2 separate regions of the Homo sapiens genome follow, and region 2 is linked to region 1. The links are contacts of gene promoters, found by promoter capture Hi-C in human tissues and cell types (Jung and others, 2019). All regions are on one chromosome and are shown on one strand. The core of a region is centred on a gene start or on the middle of the fragment in contact, and the rest is flanking DNA. Distances in the headings are between cores, read along the strand shown. Region 1 holds the start of OR10AD1 (olfactory receptor family 10 subfamily AD member 1). Region 2 holds the start of SNORA2A (small nucleolar RNA, H/ACA box 2A).

The links. Contacts are between HindIII fragments. The study calls those that stand out against the background at their distance.
Region 2: a contact is called between a fragment that was not itself captured here and the fragment with the promoter of OR10AD1 in region 1, in 1 of the 25 tissues and cell types used here (pancreas).

Annotation. Positions count from the first base shown.
Region 1 is chr12:48,201,881-48,204,613 of GRCh38, reverse strand. It overlaps OR10AD1 (olfactory receptor family 10 subfamily AD member 1), which reads left to right and starts at 1,322. Exons shown (of 1, transcript NM_001004134.1): 1 at 1,322-2,275. The coding sequence starts at 1,322. The coding sequence ends at 2,275. All of the region lies in intron 1 of LOC102725258 (a long non-coding RNA gene), which reads right to left. The HindIII fragment of the contact is 6,629 bases long and covers 1-2,632 here.
Region 2 is chr12:48,655,761-48,658,493 of GRCh38, reverse strand. All of the region lies in intron 8 of KANSL2 (KAT8 regulatory NSL complex subunit 2), which reads left to right. SNORA2A (small nucleolar RNA, H/ACA box 2A) reads left to right here and starts at 1,712; the gene lies at 1,712-1,846. The HindIII fragment of the contact is 5,884 bases long and covers 1-2,733 here.

The DNA.
Region 1 (2,733 bases), core at 73-2,572:
AGAAATGGTTGGCAGAACTGAAAGTTAAGCAGGAATATACTTATCATCTATAAGCATCTGAAGATGAGGATGGGTGCAGTAGCTCACATCTGTAATCCCAGCACTTTGGGAGGCCAAGGCAGGAGAATCACTTAAAGCCAGAAGTTCAAGACCAGCACAGGTGACATAGTGAGTACCTGTCTCTATAAATTCTTAAAAAAAAAAAAAAAAGTATAAGCATCTGAAGGTGGAAGGGATCTGATACATCTTAGCTCCAAAACAACATGAAAAGTATAAGACAGACTTAATATGAACATAACAACTTCCTAAAAGTTACAATAGAGAGATAAGAGCATAAGAATTGTGACCGCTCATTCTTTGAAAATGGAAAAAGAACAAGATTTGTTGCCAGAGACAAAGAGACAGTTGAAAGTTCTCTGAAGGTCCATTCTAGAAAGGTTAGATATATGCCCTGCTCATAGCTTCCCTTTTCACACAGGGATGGTTGGATCCTTTCCACCCAATTGTGTGTAACCGTAAATTCCAGCCCCAGGAGGAAAACCATCTCCTATTAGGAAGGCATGCATGAGCCCCCACCCAGCCCTCAGCTCCAGCATGCACAGCATGGGTGGCTGCGGTAGCAGCAGCAACTGCTGGGCGAGTGAGTCTGGGAAGAGGTGGGTGACTGGGAAGAGCTTGACATGACTGTCTCCAAAAAGGTGCAAATCACTGTTAGCTGAGGGACAATTGTGAGGATTAGAATGTTTTTATTTTCCCTGAAACTTCAACCCATTCATCATTTTAAATTAGGTACACAGAGGTTGAGCATTTTTGCTTCTAGAAAAATACACCTTCAAATATCTCAAGTGCTTCCTAAATACAATCTTCTATAACCTGATAGCCACCAGCCCTTTCCCTCACACACTCCATTCTTCAATTCCTAAAACTTTTCCTCAGTTGGCATGGTCCCAGACCCAATTATCTTATTTTTTCACCTCTGAATACATCCTGGTTAATGGCTAATCCTTCAATATTGAGGGCTCTGGAGCAGATGCAATACTTCACTTGATGCCTGATGAAACCAGAGTAAAGAACATTACAACCAGCACTTTCTTCATCTGTTGATATTATGATTCTATGTATGCAGCCTGTGATGACCCTGGCATTTTCACCACCCCGTAACACTGCCAAATTACTAGTTTACTAAGTTCCAAAAGGTTGACCACCATTCATCCATCCTGTTTTATAATTGGGCTTCTGGGACCAAGTGGGTACCTTCTATTACCCCACAGCTATACCCTTGTGCTTTTCCCATCATCTTTCCTCCTCAAACAGGCCCCAGATGCTAAGGAATGGCAGCATAGTGACGGAATTTATCCTCGTGGGCTTTCAGCAGAGCTCCACTTCCACACGAGCATTGCTCTTTGCCCTCTTCTTGGCCCTCTACAGCCTCACCATGGCCATGAATGGCCTCATCATCTTTATCACCTCCTGGACAGACCCCAAGCTCAACAGCCCCATGTACTTCTTCCTCGGCCATCTGTCTCTCCTGGATGTCTGCTTCATCACCACTACCATCCCACAGATGTTGATCCACCTCGTGGTCAGGGACCACATTGTCTCCTTTGTATGTTGCATGACCCAGATGTACTTTGTCTTCTGTGTTGGTGTGGCCGAGTGCATCCTCTTGGCTTTCATGGCCTATGACCGTTATGTTGCTATCTGCTACCCACTTAACTATGTCCCGATCATAAGCCAGAAGGTCTGTGTCAGGCTTGTGGGAACTGCCTGGTTCTTTGGGCTGATCAATGGCATCTTTCTCGAGTATATTTCATTCCGAGAGCCCTTCCGCAGAGACAACCACATAGAAAGCTTCTTCTGTGAGGCCCCCATAGTGATTGGCCTCTCTTGTGGGGACCCTCAGTTTAGTCTGTGGGCAATCTTTGCCGATGCCATCGTGGTAATTCTCAGCCCCATGGTGCTCACTGTCACTTCCTATGTGCACATCCTGGCCACCATCCTCAGCAAAGCCTCCTCCTCAGGTCGGGGGAAGACTTTCTCTACTTGTGCCTCTCACCTGACTGTGGTCATCTTTCTCTACACTTCAGCTATGTTCTCTTACATGAACCCCCACAGCACACATGGGCCTGACAAAGACAAACCTTTCTCCCTCCTGTACACCATCATTACCCCCATGTGCAACCCCATCATTTATAGTTTCCGCAACAAGGAAATTAAGGAGGCCATGGTGAGGGCACTTGGAAGAACCAGGCTGGCCCAGCCACAGTCTGTCTAGCAGGAAGGCCCTGAAAGGAAAGCTCCTTCACCTGGGGAATGGGAGAGTTACCCCATCCCCAGCCCTGGCAGATGAGTAACTCTCCTATGCTGAAAGGCTCCAGGAAAGAGCGTTCATGGCTTCCTTGGCACTAGAATCAGACCTGAAAGTTCCTCCTGATGTCCAATGTCCTGATGTTATCTCTCTGACTTCACTTCCACATTGTTTTTTCTTGGACCTTCCTCGGGAGAATTTCGGATTTTCCTTAGTTTTTTTCCTCAGTTTCTTTTCCTCTTAAGTTCTCACAACAGGATTCAATAAATAAGTGCACTTAACTCCATTTTATTTGTATATACCTTTACATGCTAGTCCCCCAACCTGAGTTTCGTACATACATTTAGAAATAAACTCTTTTATTTTTCAGCTCTTCATTTTACTGTTTTTCTTTCTCAAATTCCACTCTCACTTCCTGGGTCTAC
Region 2 (2,733 bases), core at 66-2,565, 450 kb before region 1:
CATGAGACATCGCGCCCAGCTGAAAACATGGATTCTCTTTATATCCTGATACTTCAATTTTTAAAACACTCCTGTTTTAATAGGCATTTTTGCTGATTTTCTTATTTTAGGATCCTTTTCCCAGTTTAAAATCTTATAAAAGACAACCCTTTGTATATATGAGAAAAGCCTTTTCTGAAAACATACACATTCCATTATTATCTTGAGATTTAGATGCCTTTTGATTCAGTGTTTAAATAATTCCAAGCTAGTCATTATTATTTTTGACAGAGTCTCGCTCTGTCACCTAGGCTGGAGTGCATTGGCGTGATCTCGGCTCACTGCACTGTCTGCCTCCTGGGTTCAAGCGATTCTCCGGTCTAAGCCTTCCGAGTAGTTGGGATTACAGGTGCGCCCCACTGTGCTTGGCTAATTTTTGTATTTTTAGTAGAGACAGGGTTTCACCATGTTGGCCAGGCTGGTCTCAAGCTCCTGGCCTCAAGTGTTTCGCCCACCTTGGCCTCCCAAAGTGCTAGGATTACAGGCGTGAGCCACCGTGCCCATTCCAAGCTAATTGTTTATGTAAGAATTGCACATGGGCCGGGTGCGGTGGCTGACGCTTGTAATCCCAGCACTTTGGGAGTCCGAGACGGGTAGATCACCTGAGGTCAGGAGTTCTAGACTAGCCTGGCCAACATGGTGAAACTCCGTCTCTACCAAAAATACAACAATTAGCTGGATGTGGTGGCACGCGCCTGTAATCCCAGCTACTGGGGAGGCTGAGGCAGGAGAATCGCTTGAACCCAGGAGGTGGAGGTTGCAGTGAGCCAAGATCTTGCCATTGCACTCCAGCCTGGGTAACAAGAGTGAAACTCTGTCTCACACACACGCACGCACACACACACACACAAATTGCACATAGTAAAAGAATGGGAGAAAACAGATTTATAGTCTTAATGGTGTGAGAACACTGGTTTCTGTGGGTAGTACAGAAGTTTCCAACTCACCTGAAAATGAATGGTAGGTTGAGTGTATCCTGTGCCCTATGTTTCTGCTTAAATTGAGCAGCTTTATTTTATTATTTTTTTTTGAGACAGAGTCTTGCTCTGTTGCCCAGACTGGAGTGCAGTGGTGCAGTCTCGGCTCACTGCAACCTCTGCCTCCTGGGTTCAAGCAATTCTCCTGCCTCAGTGTCCTGAGTAGCTGGGACTACAGGTATGTGCCAAGACGCCTGGCTAATTTTTGTATTTTTAGTAGAGATGGGGTTTCACCATGTTGGCCAGGCTGGTAATTTTTTGTGGAGACTGGGTTTCACCATGTTAGCCAGGATGGTCTCAATCTCTTGACCTCATGATCCGCCCACCTTGGCCTCCCAAAGTGTTAGGATTGCAGGCGTGAGCCACTGCACCCGGCCTGAGCAGCTTTAAGTAGATTTTAAAATTATATATATTCTTTAATGTGAAGATGTTGTGATTCTCATTTTTGGTGATTAGCACACCAACAAATGGGAAAGGATTGCAAATTCTTAGATTTATTTAAAAGCGTAGAACTAAGCTTCTCGTGAAGCTAGATGAATAGAAACACGGAGCATCTATAAACTGGATTAAACATAGGGGGGTACAAACCTCCTGGATATTTTTAATTCTTAGGAAGAAGGAGAATTTAGCACCAGACTCTTGAAAAGCAGTGGCATGAAAGTTAGTTTGATATATTGTTTGAGTTTGTATTGCCTTAGGCCCTGAATCAAGACCAATGGTTTGCTGTAGCTGTTGGTTTCAAACAGGAGCTAAGAGTGATGTCTTCCTTGTGGTCTGTTGGCTATTCAGTATTCCAGTGCGAATTGCCAATTCAGTTGGAAGAAACATAGTCTAGAATGTAATGTCATTTTTTTTTTTTTTTTTTTTACAGAGCAAAACTATGTTAGGCTTAAGAACCAGGGAGTTGGCCGGGCGTGGTGGCTCATGCCTGTAATCCCAGCACTTTGGGAGGCTGAGGTGGGCCAATCACTGGTCGGGAGATCAAGGCCATCCTGGCTAACATGGTGAAACCCTGTCTCTACTAAAAATACAAAAAATTAGCTGGGCGTGGTGGCACACGCCCATAGTCCCAGCTACTGGGGAGGCTGAGGCAGGAGAATCACTTGAACCCAGGAGGCGGAGGTTGCAGTGAGCCGAGATCACGTCACTGCACTCCAGCCTGGGCGACAGAGCGAGACTCTGTCTCAAAAAAAAAAAAAACAAAACAAAAAAAACCAGGTTGTTGCTCTGTCGGGATAGGGACTTAACCAAAATAATATTTCCTAGCCATTCAGAGGAACTGTGAGTTTTCTGTTGTCCTTCCTTTCTTCCTACCTTCTCCCTTTCCCTTGTTGGAGCTTGTTTGCTTGCTTTGTGGCTGTTAGGATATTAATCAGGCAATCTTGTATTACCCAGCAATATTTAATTTTAACGTAGCATTGTTCATATTTAAATTAATCACTGGTGAACTTACATGTTCATTACAGGTAGCCTCAGAGAATATGCTTTTTTAAAAAATATTTTTTTAATTGTAGTAAAACATACATAACAAAATTTTACTCTTTTAACCTATGTATGTATGTGTGTAAGTAGGTGGGTAGGTAGAGATGGAGTCTTGCTGTGTCACCCAGGCTGGTCTTGAATTCCTGGCCTCAAGTGATCCTCCCACTTCGGCTTCCCAAGGTGTTGTTATCATAGGCATGAGCCACTGCACCTGGCCGTTTTTAAGTGTACAAGT